Linked DNA regions of Homo sapiens: all the other regions are linked to region 3. Evidence: promoter capture Hi-C in 16 types of primary human blood cells and fetal thymus (Javierre and others, 2016). All regions are on one chromosome and are shown on one strand. Each heading gives the region's core, a stretch centred on a gene start or on the middle of the fragment in contact. The rest is flanking DNA. Distances are from core to core; before and after follow the strand shown. Region 1 holds the start of WNT11 (Wnt family member 11). Region 2 holds the start of LRRC32 (leucine rich repeat containing 32). Region 3 overlaps EMSY (EMSY transcriptional repressor, BRCA2 interacting).

Evidence for each region. Contacts are between HindIII fragments. The CHiCAGO score rates a contact against its expected background, and 5 or more counts as called.
Region 1: a contact is called between the fragment with the promoter of WNT11 here and a fragment that was not itself captured in region 3, in 1 of 17 cell types (megakaryocytes). The highest score is 6.9, in megakaryocytes.
Region 2: a contact is called between the fragment with the promoter of LRRC32 here and a fragment that was not itself captured in region 3, in 1 of 17 cell types (naive B cells). The highest score is 5.5, in naive B cells.

The regions. Positions count from the first base shown.
Region 1 is chr11:76,203,690-76,208,207 of GRCh38, reverse strand. WNT11 (Wnt family member 11) reads left to right here and starts at 1,706. Exons shown (of 5, transcript NM_004626.3): 1 at 1,706-1,883. The coding sequence starts at 1,801. RefSeq lists silencers at 354-573, 1,554-1,793 and an enhancer at 582-1,249. The HindIII fragment of the contact is 7,460 bases long and covers 1-2,738 here.
Region 2 is chr11:76,669,261-76,673,255 of GRCh38, reverse strand. LRRC32 (leucine rich repeat containing 32) reads left to right here and starts at 2,509. Exons shown (of 3, transcript NM_001128922.2): 1 at 2,509-2,642. RefSeq lists silencers at 393-632, 2,365-2,564, 2,625-2,754. The HindIII fragment of the contact is 10,336 bases long and covers 1-3,995 here.
Region 3 is chr11:76,445,154-76,449,739 of GRCh38, reverse strand. It overlaps EMSY (EMSY transcriptional repressor, BRCA2 interacting), which reads right to left. Exons shown (of 22, transcript NM_001300942.2): 2 at 2,732-2,840. The coding sequence starts at 2,801. Among named protein-coding and RNA genes, the nearest start is that of EMSY, 2.4 kb to the right of the region's middle. RefSeq lists enhancers at 3,721-4,015, 4,155-4,224, 4,265-4,314, 4,515-4,586, 4,445-4,586. The HindIII fragment of the contact is 738 bases long and covers 2,371-3,108 here.

The DNA.
Region 1 (4,518 bases), core at 457-2,956, 240 kb after region 3:
CGCAGGTGGCGTCGCGGTGCAAATAGCAGAGGGGCGCTGAGCCCCGCAGGCTGCAGGGAGACGGGGTCCTCGGGGGACGCACGGCGAAGCCCCATTCCTCGTTCTTATGGAAGGGGACACCGAGGCTGGGGTGGCTGAGGGCTTGCCCAAGCTCACAGAGCCAGATAAGAACGTCCCTTTTCTGCTCCAGCGCCCCCACTACCGTGGGCGCCTCCTTTTCCAACTCCCCAAACCCTTAGAAAGGAATCCCTTTGTCTCTGCTCCTCCCGAGGGGAGAGGGGCTGGGGCTGTGTCTGACTCCGGGCGAACGCCAGGTGTTGGTAAATTTGGGAGAAGCTGGGAAGGGAGTTAATGAGGTGAGAATGAAGTGAAGGAGAAAAAAAGCGGAGATAGCTGCTCCGCGGGCTGCGGGCGGGCGGGGCAGCCTCTCCTCCGCGGCCCGAGGGCGCCGCCTGGAGGCCAGAGGCAACACCGCGCCAGCCCCGCGAGCTTCCCCGCTTCGCTAAGGCGGGGCTGCCCAGTCCCAGCCCGCATGCTTCCACTCCCACCCTCCAAAGTGGAGCGGCTAAAGACGGACTTGGAGACTCGGAATCCTCACTGTACAAAGAGCCCTACCATCCCGTTTCCCATCCTCCCCTTCCCACACCGAGAAAGCAGGGCCCCGAGCAAGCCCCATTTCCTGATTTCGCCGGACACCCGGCTTGCCGCTCCCTAGCTGAACCCCACCTCTGTGCCTCAGTTTCCTCATCTGTGAGATGAGGCAGCGATAGTGCCTATCTCACGGGGTGCTGGGAGGAGCAGATGCGATCGTGTTAGGGAACTTTTTTTGTTTGTCTGTTTGTTTGAGACGGAGTTTCGCTCTTGTCGCCCAGGCTAGAGTGCAGTGGCGCAATCTCCGCTCGCTGCAACCTCCGCCTCCCGGGTTCAAGCGGTTCTCCTGCCTCAGCCTCCCGAGTAGCTGGGATTACAGGCGCCCGCCACCACGCCCGGCTAATTTTTTGTATTCGTAGTAGAGACGGGGTTTTGCCATGTTGGGCAGGCTGGTCTCGAGCTCCTGACCTCAGGTGACCCGCCCGCCTCGACCTCCCAAAGTGCTGGGATTACAGGCGTGAGCCACCCTGCCCGGCCAGGGAACGTTCTTTATAAAAGCGGAATTGTGCCCGAATTGCCCCAGCTTACTGAGGAGGTAAACTGAAACACGTTTGGGAAGGAGAATTGCCGAGGCCCTATTAACTAATGCTCAATATTGCAGGGATAAGCCCCAGCTCCGGGTCCTCGACTCTGCTGCCTCGCCTGGACTCCTGATTCCTCATTCCTCTCCTTTCCGTCCCAGGTTGCGTCTGTCCGGGTTTCCCCCTCTGTCTCCGTGGCTCTCAGCCTTGTCCTCTGAGCGTCCTTCTCCCTCTCGCTGTGTCTGCCCGGTCTCTCCTGGGTCTCCGGTTCTGCCGCCTCCTGTCCCTCCTTCCGGCTGCCCCGGCCAGAGGGGCTCGAAGGCGCGTTGGGGCCCGGGGCCACGCTGGGAGACACGCCTTCGGCCGCGCCTAATTCGAGCCAGGCGCGGGACGCGTCCCCCGGCCGGGCGGAGCGGGAGGGGACGCCCGCCGCGCTCGGCCTCCCCGGGCCCCGACCCCTCCTTTGTAATTTGAATAAAACGCCTCCCCCGCCCGCGCGCCGCCTTAACCCGCCGCCTCCGCTCTCCCCGGCTGCAGGCGGCGTGCAGGACCAGCGGCGGCCGTGCAGGCGGAGGACTTCGGCGCGGCTCCTCCTGGGTGTGACCCCGGGCGCGCCCGCCGCGCGACGATGAGGGCGCGGCCGCAGGTCTGCGAGGCGCTGCTCTTCGCCCTGGCGCTCCAGACCGGCGTGTGCTATGGCATCAAGTGGCTGTGAGTAGGGACCCCGCGTCCACGCGCACAGGCCAGGGACTGGGGCGGCGGAGGGCGTTTTGGGGTCCCCTGGATGGGGCGAGCGCACCAAGACCCGGGAGCCTAAGCTGGCTTGGCGGTCGTGGGCAAGTCATCCCTCAGCCTCTGTTTCCTCCTCTGTAAAATGTCCCTGCCTCCCGCAGGCTTGCGAAAAGGGAGTGAGACGGGCGTGGACCACAATGGAAGCGCCTGGTCCTGTGCAGCTGACGGTGGCGCAAGGGCCACGGAGTTTCTGGCCACCTCCGCAGGGGCAGATGGAAAAAGACATTCTGTTCAGGGGGCGCAATCCAGAGCGGCCAGCCCAGGAGCGGTCCTTGTCCGTCAGTCTCCTTGACCCTAGCGGGAGTTCCGCTGAGACACTCCTGACCCCTCCACCTGGGCGACCTTGGGAAAGTGTCACTCTACTTCTTGGGGCCTCCTTGTCCTCCTCTGTCACGGGAGGGTGAGACTCCCCACCTCCCTCAAATCAGATGAGAAGAGGCTCCTGAAAGGACCTCAGAAGCTGTCAGATGCCACTGTGCACATGTGCAGGGCATTCCTTTAGATAGAAATTATTCACGCAGGGGTAGGAGGGAGAGAGAGGCTTGGTGCCGAGCTGAAGGGAGTGCCTGCTCAGGGGGCTGGGGGTGGTGAAGAGAGGAGTAAACACCAGCCCCTTCCCGGAGGAGCTGCGCTCTAAGTTGAGAGAGATAAGCCCAGGCTGTAAATAACTCCACAAGTGTCCAAGTGCCCGAGGAGAAACCAGAGCGGGAATCTGGAGGCCTAGAGGAAGGAAGCCCACCTGGTGGGGACACAGATGTGAGACACCGGGAAGCTTTTCCGAGGCTGTGCCTCTGGTGACTGAAGCGCTGCTGGGAGTTGGCTGGTTCGGGCAATGGAGAGGACGCTGTGGGCAGAGGGGCTCCCTGAGAGGGAAAGTCCAGGACAGGACAAGGGTCTGGAATCTGGGGCCAGGGCAGGGAGCCTGCAGATAAGACAGCAGGGGGCAGGTTGTGGGGGCTGGGGAGGGCGCTGCAAAGGGTTTGTGAATTAGTTGGAAGACAGGGTGATAGTGGCTGCGCCGCCAGCAAACAGTCTGGAGGTCACTGGCCCTGCCCCTTCTCAGGCCAAGTTATTGATTAATTGACGATTCGAGGAGGGAACCCCGTCTTCCTGCCTTTCTTGTTTACAAGAAGCCTGGTCTCAGCAATCTCCCAGCCCTGGGCACTAGCTTTTCCCAGCTGTCCCTGAGGAGTTCTGTGAGAAACCAGCCACCTTCCTTTTGCAATGGGGTACCCAGCACTGTTCCAGCTGGCAGGGACCTCCGATCAGCGAGTCCAAGCTCTCTCATCCACCGCCACCATTTTACAGATAAGGATACTAAGGTCCAGGGAAGGAGAGGATTGGCTGAAGGAGCGTCAGAGGCCTTGCAGTGGGCTTGGGTGTCATTTGCCGCCCATAAGAGTCCTGTGGGGTCACTGCCATCATCCCTGCTCCACAGTGGGAACACCGAGACCCTGCAAAGGGCATGATGCACGCAAGCCCCCACGCTGGCCTGTGGTGGGATGGACGGCTGGCTAAACCTGACGTCCATGTCCTCTGTCCCCACTGCAAAGTCAGGCTGCCACAGAAATGGGTACAACTCATTGTGTGCCTTAAATAAGCCCCCAGGCTCTTGGGGGAGATGGACATATAGAAATACAAAGTGGACTATGGTCTGTGTCCTAGCAGAGGGAGCATGGCAGCCCAGAGGAGGAGTGATCAGTTCTATCTAAGGGAGATGCATAGGCCAGGATTGGAAGGACAGGGAGGATTTGGATGGTCAGAGACGGAGTGCAAAGCAGGCGTCCTAGGCGGGAGGCACAGCACGAGCAGAAGCCTGGAGGCCGAACAGCGCATGCGGGGAGACCTGGAGAAACCAGGCACCACAAGAGCCTACTCCTAAGTGCCCCAGACGCTGCTCCGAGAGCTTGGGTCATGTAAGTTAGATCATACTGCACTCCTATGAGAAACTGATAGTCTAGCAATAGGGGATTAAAGTCTTGCTAGAGTTTAAGATAGAGGGGGAGGTGGGAAAAGGGGTGGAGTTTAAGAATAACAACGATCTGTGTATGCATGTGTATATATAGATACACGTGTGTAGGCCACGTGCATATATCTATGTATATGTACATATATGTCTACACACACATGGCCTCACTTTGTGCTAGGTGCCGTTCTAAGTGCCTTATGTATATTGTTCCATTTAAATATCCCAACCACCCTGTGAGGTGGGTGCTGCTATTACCCCCGTTGCACAGAAGAGGAAACAGAGACTGGGGCACACAGAGATGGGGGACTCTACCTAGCAGGGTGTCACAGCTCAGAGGTAGTAGAGGCAGGATTTGAGTTAAGCTGCCTAGCTCTGTGGACTGTTGGGCACAGGGAGCCCCAGCACAGCTGGGAGCAGGGAAGTGTTCAGTGAGGCTGGAAAGCCGGGGACTCACCCAGGAGCCTCCGCTGGCCTGGGCTTTGGAGAGTGAGCTGGAGATGAAAGGGGCACTTGGCACAGGAACTGAAAGCCAACATGGCCCAGTGGCCTGGAATGCTCACCTGGTGGGTGCCTGGGACGCAGGCT
Region 2 (3,995 bases), core at 1,260-3,759, 220 kb before region 3:
TTGGCCTTCAAGGCCTCTGGACTCAATCATCCTCTGTGCTCTCATCTGTCTCTCATCTGGCCTGGGAGCTCCAAAAAAGTAGGCATTGGGCATTTTTATTCAGCAACTGTCCTGGGCCCACCAGAGGAGAGAGGTCATGTTTACTGAGCAAAGGCCCCCGCGACCAGGAACTTCACACGTGTCATTACAGGCCATCCTCATACACCCGGTACTGTAATTAGTTTCACTTTGCAGGTCAGCAAACCAAGGTCAGGAAGGCTGAGCAACCTGCCAAAAGTCACACAACAACATGACTGCCAAAGAAGTGAAGAGATGAAGGAAGGGGCGCTGAGCCTGTGGGCTTCCCGGCTTTTAGCCCCTGGTCCCCAGAGGCATCTGCAGCAGGTGGGCACGCTTGGTTGCCCATCTGCCTCAAATGTGGGGGAGCCCCATCCGGGCACTGAGTAAGGTGGAACCCCACGAGCTGACTAACCACAACCACAGCCTCTGGGGGCGGGGGAGTGGGAGGTGGGGCACTCACCCCCAGCCCACCATAGCCCCAGCCCCGCCCTCCTGGGCCCTAGCAGAAGCTCTGCCATGGCCCAGTGATTTCTGCTTGGTAGCAGCTCCGGGAAGGGTGAGGCAGTGCTCAGCGAGCCTGGGTCTGGATGGCTGGGAGCTGGTCTGATACACAAGGCCAGGAACTGCCCGAATGATCCAGTCACTCTGCTCATACTGCAGGGCAGCTTCAAAGCACTTTCCTGAACATTTGGCCCCTTGGACAGGGACCTGGAAAAGGAAGCCCACAGGATATAGGAGTATCCACCAACTGCCACAATAAAGGCAGTGAGAAGTTGCCTAACAACCACTGGGTGCAGGCTCCAGCTGGATCCATTGCACTTAGTTCTAGCACCAACTCCAAGTAGTAGCTACTATCTTTCCCACTTTACAGATAGGGGCACTGAGGTTCCATTTGACCAAATGGAGCACTAGAGACCAGAGAGGGGGCTGGATGGACCAGCTAGGACCCTGTGGACATAGATCTGAGGCCTTGGGTGGCTGGGAGGGAAGGGAAAGAGGTTTGGATACCCTTCGCAGGCCCTGCTGAGAGATTCCTTACCTGCACCTCCTGCCCATCCCCTCACTGCAGCTCAGGCCTCCTCCTTAGGGAAGCCTTCCCTGATTTCCTCTTCTAAGACTAGGTCAGGCCCCTATGGCACCTGCTATCATGGCTTGTCCTCTCTGGGTTGACCCCATCTCCCCAGATCCATCTCCACAGTGGACTGAACAGGGGTAAGAAAAGGCAGTAACTGTAGAGACTTCAGGGAATCCCGCTTCTGAGCCCAGCCTTACCCTGATTTGCCACAAGGCCCTGGGTGGTCACTTTCATGCATGTAAAATGGGGCACCCTGCCCCACTCTCAGGGCTGGTGACGATCAGGGAAGAGAAACACTGTGGAAGAGGCCCCTTCTACACTTGGAACCAGGACCTGGAGGACAGCCAGGGCCCCTCTCTTCTAGGGACCCGCATACTAGAGTCCACAGGCAGCAAGGCAGGGTACCTGTGATTTGGTAGGGTCAAGGCATCTAGAAGAGAGGTGGCTTTGGGAAAGATCTGCTTCAACCTCCAATCTAAATGACAATACCGCCACCCCATATTTGCACAGTACTTTAAAAATTCGGGCAAGATAATGCCCAAACTGAATCAGACTTAGCTTTATGAACAGATTGGGCTCAAATCACTGATTCTTATTAGCTGTGTTGACTTTGGACACGCCATTTAACCTTTTCTGAGCCTCAGGTTCCCCAGCTATAAATAGGGACCTTACTAGTCTCAGACAATTGGTTTTCATGTGTACACACTGCCCCCACCCCTAGCCTCAGCTTCTCCATCCGAAAACAGGACTTTGATGGTGCCGTTTCACAGGCTGTTGAAGGGTCCCGCAGATGATGGAGGAGTACGGGTCCAGACACTAGAGCACAATCCGGAGAGGAAAAGTGACCTGCCAGGACCCACCAGAGTGGACGGCTTGGTGCGGGGAACCCCCTCCGCGGCCGCCCCAGGGCCAGCGAAGGGTCATTTCCTTCCGCATTCAGCCCCGCCGTCACCTCGCCTGTTTGCCCCCGCGTTAAGTGCGGCGGCGCCAGCAGCTGGGAAATCGGGGCCAGGCCGGATTTCCTCTGTGGACCTGCGGCTCCTAGAGCCACCGCGCCCCCCTCCGGACCCCGCGGGGCCGCGAACTGCACGTGCGGCGGCCGCTGGGATGGGCCTCGCTCCCACGGCGCTTCCTCTGCAACCCCTCTCCCTCCCGCCCTCTCATCCCCCCACACTGGGCCCCCGCCCCTTCCCGGCCGAGGTCCCAGGGTGGTGAAGATGCTTCGCCGCCCCACCCCACTCCGCCCCCGCCGGCTCCGGATAAACCGAGGCACGGGGCCAGGCGCTAGGACCCCACGGCCTCGCCAGAGGGGGGCGTGGCGGGGCGGGCCGGCGGGAGAGGTATTTAAATTGCAGCCGGAGCGCGGGGGCTCCGGTGGGGCAGCTGAGCGGCCTGCTCCTCCTCGGGCCGTGACCCCGGGGTCTGGCGCGGGGTGGGACCCGGGGGCGGGTTTGCGCAAAATGTGCCGAGACTGCCCGGGAGAGGAGCTGCGGCCGCGCTGAGCCAGGTAGGAGCCGCCGGGCAGGCGAGGCTGGCCGGCCCTCGGGGGGCGCACTGTCGCGCGCCTCTAGCGAGCGCAAGGCGGGGGCTGGTCCCAAGGGACGCCCCCCAAACACTCCCCTCCCGCCATCCCCACTGCGCGCGTGGAGCCGGGGCTGACCCTCCCTCGGTCCCTGGGAGTTCCCCAGCGCTCCTGTCTTGGCGGATCTTTCCCGCAAAGGGGTGAGGCCGGCCTTCCCATTTGACAGCTGGGAAAACAATGGCCTGAAGACCGTGACTTGCCCAGGAACACACAGCTAGGCAAGGGCAAACCGGAATTTGAATTCAGGTTTCCTGCAACGCTCCGATCCCAGCCAGGCGTGGGGCTGCCCATCCCACAGCACTAGATGGCCTGCCCATTTCTCGTAGTGGGGTAGGGGGCACCCACCGCTCTCCAAGGGGCTCTGAACCCAGCCTTCTTCATGGGTGGTAAGATGTGAGGGGCCCCCACCCCCACGCCGAGCTGCCTGAAATTCCGCCATCACAGCCACATTCCTTTGGGTTAAGGTCTAATTCCCCCGTGGGATGCACATGTCTCCAGAACGAGGCTTGCCCTTAGTGATTCACTGCTTGACAGGAACGTCCGCAGCAGCTCTCCCAGGACCCCACTCTGCCAGTAAGTCAGCTGAGGCCGAGAGGAGGGAGAGAGGACCTCAGAGGCCAGACTGTGAGCTAGTCTGCCCTGCTCCTGCGTGTGAGGGGTCGTTGGCAGGGCTTAGGGAAGGAGACCTTGATTTGGTATAGTGGGAACATTTGCTTTGGAGACAGATGAACTGGATTCTGATCGTGACCCTGCTATTTTCTCCTTGTGTGACTTTGGGTAAGTCACTTCTCTGAGCCTCCTTTTCTTCATGGGCAAAAAAAAGACAGTTCTATTGGGGGCAGTCGGCTCAGCATGTGCTGGAGAAAACACAGTATTCAGGTCATGTAGAACTGGATAAATCCCAGCTCCAAAGCCCTTATGAGCTGGGTAACTCTGGGGGTAAGTCACTTCACTTTCCGGAAACTGTTTTCTCATCCGTAAAATGGGAATTACAGTAATTTCCTCAATAGGTGATTGTGAGAATTAAATGAGATGATATAGGTCAAGTGCTTAGAAGACTAACATCCTTAAATGTAGGGGTGGGCTTATTGTGGTAGTAGTCATTGCCCCCCGTACCCCTGCTCTTTCTCTCTCACTCTCTCTCTCTCTCTCACACACACACACACACACACACACACACACACACACACACATTCTTTGGCACTTTTCTGAGTTGGACTCCTGAGAGTCCGACTCTCCTGCCTCCTCTTGCCCAGGCCACTTGTCTGCAGGCTTGGG
Region 3 (4,586 bases), core at 1,490-3,989:
AAAATGGAAAAGTAGTTTGTGGCCAGACTGAGAAAAGCCTCTATTTCCAGTCTAAAATGTTTTTATTTGATAGGACTCAGTAATTGATTGATTGTGGGAAGTAATGACAGAAGGCAGTCAGATTTTGCAGCCTGCAAAATGTTTAGGAGAATGGCAATGCCATAAAAAGAAATGAAGAGGTCAAAGTGAGGGAATAGTTTGAGAAAAATGAAAAAGAAGTTGACACTTGTGACCTGTGGAATTTATGATGATCAAGACATTACTTCAGAGAAAATAAAATTAACTAAAGAAATACAACAAATATTTCTGACATTTCAAGTCTAAGAAGTCATGTACAAAATCAAGAGATGGCAACCTCACACACACAAAACTGGGACTCTGAACACAGTTACCACAGCTATAGAATCCACATCACTTCCTCCTCTTCACAAGAAATTCACTCATTGTAAAGAACCCTATTAGCTTCCCAACCTCCTTCACATTTGTTGATGTCCATTTTGATGGGTATCCTTAGATCTTCACATACCTCAAATTTAGTTGAATTTCTGGTATTATTTTTCAAGCAATTCTATCACAGTGTTAATACAAAAGTAGAATAAAATAACAAACACATATGAACATTCCAAAAACGAAAGATTTGCCAAACCATTTATATAAAGCCCTCAATTTGGTCCATTAAATCAGCCATTCAAATACACTATAGTCCATAAAGCCCCGTGTTGGAGCTACAGCTCAGGAATGATCACAAAAATAGGGAAGGGGAGAGGCAAGACAGAGAGAAGGAAGCATTTATCTAGCACTGACACATTCAGTATATATAAAGAAATTCTCTATCCCAATTTCTTTATATGTATGTAAAATCTAAGTATTTAACATCTTATATTAAAATGATTTATAACTATTTTTTAAAGGATACAGCTAATTTTTAAAAACTGTATGTACCTTTTCTAAACTTTGGACCTAGAGTTAGCATGTGAAGACAATTCAAAGGTTTCATTGTTATGATAATAAGCCAACGGGTGGGGAGGAAGTCTTTGGCAAATCACTATCAAAGCTCACCTCCCAATATGAGGGGTCAATGAAGATGATATTACCATACGAGATGACTGTTTTCTTTTATATAGAAGCACTCTGCAGCAACATTACCCACACAGCTCTGATTAAATTAGGAATAAATTTAGACTTAAAGGTTACCATTTTTATATTTAAACATAATCTCTCAATTCAAAGGCCCCCAAGCCCAGAAACCCCAATTCAATCTACTGTCTTTGTGATATGTTCTGCAATTTCAGCTATCAAATAAATATGAGTCCAACTTTATAATCGGCAACTAACAAGTTATATTAATTGTATGCAAGTGTAGAAAACTATCTTCAGATTAGGACTAAAAGTTTGGTTAAAAAAAAAAAAGATTGACATCCCCCACACCCTCTCCAAAAACAACTCTCTTAGACTTGCTTTAAAAGATGCTGCTAAAAAGTGATTTGAAATCCTCATAGTGGCCTTGGGTGGAATAAAAAGGACAGGCAGGGCCAGAGCAGCTATGATTCTATCTGATTTACAAAGAAAAATTCCCAACAAAGATTTACTATGACGGGCCCTTTATGTATACTGTTAACACACGTAACAAACTAATGAGGCAGAGAGTGTTATCCTCTTTTTTTTTGTTTTAACAAAACTATCAACAAATTTAGGAAGAATAAATAACTTGTCCTTGGTCACATGGGTCATTTGTAATAATACCAAGACCCCAGGTCTGTCTAAATTCAAGACCTATACTTTTCCTTTAAAATCACAGATATCTAAATAATGCATATCCACTGCCAAAACATTTAATCTTCTTTTTCAAATTATTTTTTTCAATTATTTCATTTATTGTGCTAGCCAGAGACTACAGTGGTAAATAAGACAAGGTCCTCATAGTCTAAGGCAGCATTTCTCAACCAAAGATCCTCATTTGAACTACAGAACACAAAATGATTTGAGTAATAACTCTTTTTCTCAATTTTCCCAAGGAAAGTAATAACTAATAGCACTCTAGATGCACAGGGCGAAGTTAGTTCTTTACATACAATGGATACCTTAGCATTAGGGTTTAATTCTTTCCCTCAATGCTGGTTGAGAAAGGCTGCTGTAAGGGAAAAGAAACACTAAATAATAAATTACAAGCATAAAATGTGTTTTATTATTGATAGTAAAATATAATTTGAAAAAGTGAGCATGGCTTACATCAACTTAGAATTCAGAAATAGTATGTAATTGACACATACAATCATGAAGGTTAAGAGTATGTTAAAGTGAGACTGAAAGCATACTCCCTGGTTCAAATACTGACTCCATGTCTATCACCATTACCTTGGCTTCTAAGCTTCATCTGTAAAATGGAGACGAGACAAAACAAACAAACAAAAAACACCTACCTTTTAGGCTTTCAAAGGACAAAGCTAATTCTTAAAATATTTAAATTAGATGTTGTATAAAAAAGACTCAGAATAGCCAAGTAGCCCTCAATAAATCTTAGCTACTAGTATTATTACAATTCACACACCTACTATTTACAAAGCACTATGTTAGGCACTGAGGGAAACAACAATGAGTAAGATGGGAACTGTATCTCCAAAGAATTTCTGATGTAGCGTGAGATATGACATCCATGCAAACAGCTATGACCTAGGCAGAAAGGGAAAAAAGGTATCAGAGAGAGGTAAAAAACAAACAATGAACGTCATACCCAATTTTCGAAGAATTCTTTTGCATTCATCCCTGCTGAGATCCAGAAGGGTTGGCCACACAACAGGCATTGCTGCTTCTGTTTGGTAGCCCCAAAGAGCTTGTCCTCCCTACCAGAACAAAAAAAAAAAGTCAAATTACCAAAGTACCAAAGTACATTCAAGGGGCCACTCACCTGGAGATCCAGTCACAGGCTAAGAAGTAAACCAAAAAGATATTACTATTTTACAATCCTTTCTCACCACCACACTTTCCAACTTTTGAGAAATCAAGAATTAAGTCATTTGAACTATCACAGTGGAAAGAACACAGGCTTTAGAGCCAGACACCTCTAGGTTTCTAGTCCCAACTTTTCAACTTACTGGTTAAGCCTAAGCTTTACACATCTATAAAACAGAGGTAATACCACCCAGTTTGTTACGCGTATTAAAGAACACTATATATAAAGTTCTTTCATAGTGGCTGGCATTTCATTTAATAAACAGGTGGTACTACCAACCTGGGGCAAGTTGACTCCTGTCAGCTTCCTCATTTATGAATTACATGAGATAAAATTTGTAAAGCTCCTAGCAAGTTAAAGAAACTTAATAAATAACTCCTCGTGCTCGCTTCAGCAACACATATACTAAAATTGGAACGATACATACATATATATATATACACATATATATATACATATATATATACACACACACACATATATATATACTCTCTCAAGTCTTAATGGAATATGAATTTTGATCCTGTAGTTATTAAACAGCCATTTACCAACAGTTGAGCTGCCAGGAACTTACTTAGAACTGGGAATTTCCTAGTGTAAAAGACAAAAAGACACGGCTCTGGGGGCACGCGCAATACCTGCTTAGCACAGAGTAGAGCCGCTCTAAGTATTTGTTAAATGGGTAAGTGAATGGTTGACGCGACTGAGCAAAACGAATGGATGAATGAATGAATGAACGAGCTCACTGTCTAGCCTAGAAGTCAGACACCGAACCGAAATAACTGCTATATCCCGTTCCAGGCGCTGGGGCTGCTAACTCCAACTCTGTGTCCCGAGGTGAGCCCCCCTCCCCCTACTTCCCATAGTCCTCTCAGCTCAGAACAAACCCAAGGCAAGAAGAACTGGACTGCGCGCCCCAGCCGGCAGTATGACATAAAGAAAAGGGGTGGGGAGGAGGAAGAAGGGGCAGAGCCAAAGGAATCCTCTCCCTCCACAAGCCAGTCCCCGCCTCCCGACAGGATCTTGGAGGCGGCCGGCGACTGCTCGAACCGAGCACCACGTCACGGCATCCCGGCGCGTCCTAGCCAGGGGACCCCAGAGCGGGGCCGCAACGCATCGGAAACCCGGGCAGTAGTTTCCGGAGCCCGCTCGGGGAACCAGGATCTTGTAGGATCCTTCCCCACTCAAGTGTCAAGGAGACAAGCCCGCCCCGCCCCCTCTCCAAACACGCACTCCCTAGCAGCACCACAACAAGAGCAGCCAGCCCAGGCTCCTCACCCGGACCTCTCGGCGCCGGTCCCAATGTCAAGTCCACGACCCAAGCCCCTCTGGGCCAGTAGCTGTTGTCAGGGGTCCCGGCCGGCACCCGCGCCTCACTCCCTCCCCAGCGGAGAGGACAACCGAGAGAGAGTAAGCCAGCGGATACCCAGCCAGACGACCTGGACTCACCGGGAGTCTCCCAGAGCTAAACCCCCAGAGTCCCAGCACCAGGCCAGCCAGAGTCCCCCTGAGTCCACCCCGGGGAGCCCCACGATCCCGTTAGGAAACAACGGAGGATGGGGCTGGGAGCCCCAAGCCGGGCTCCGAATGCTTGGCCCGGCGCTCCTCTAGCCTGGCTGGCCTGCCAGCTCTTCCC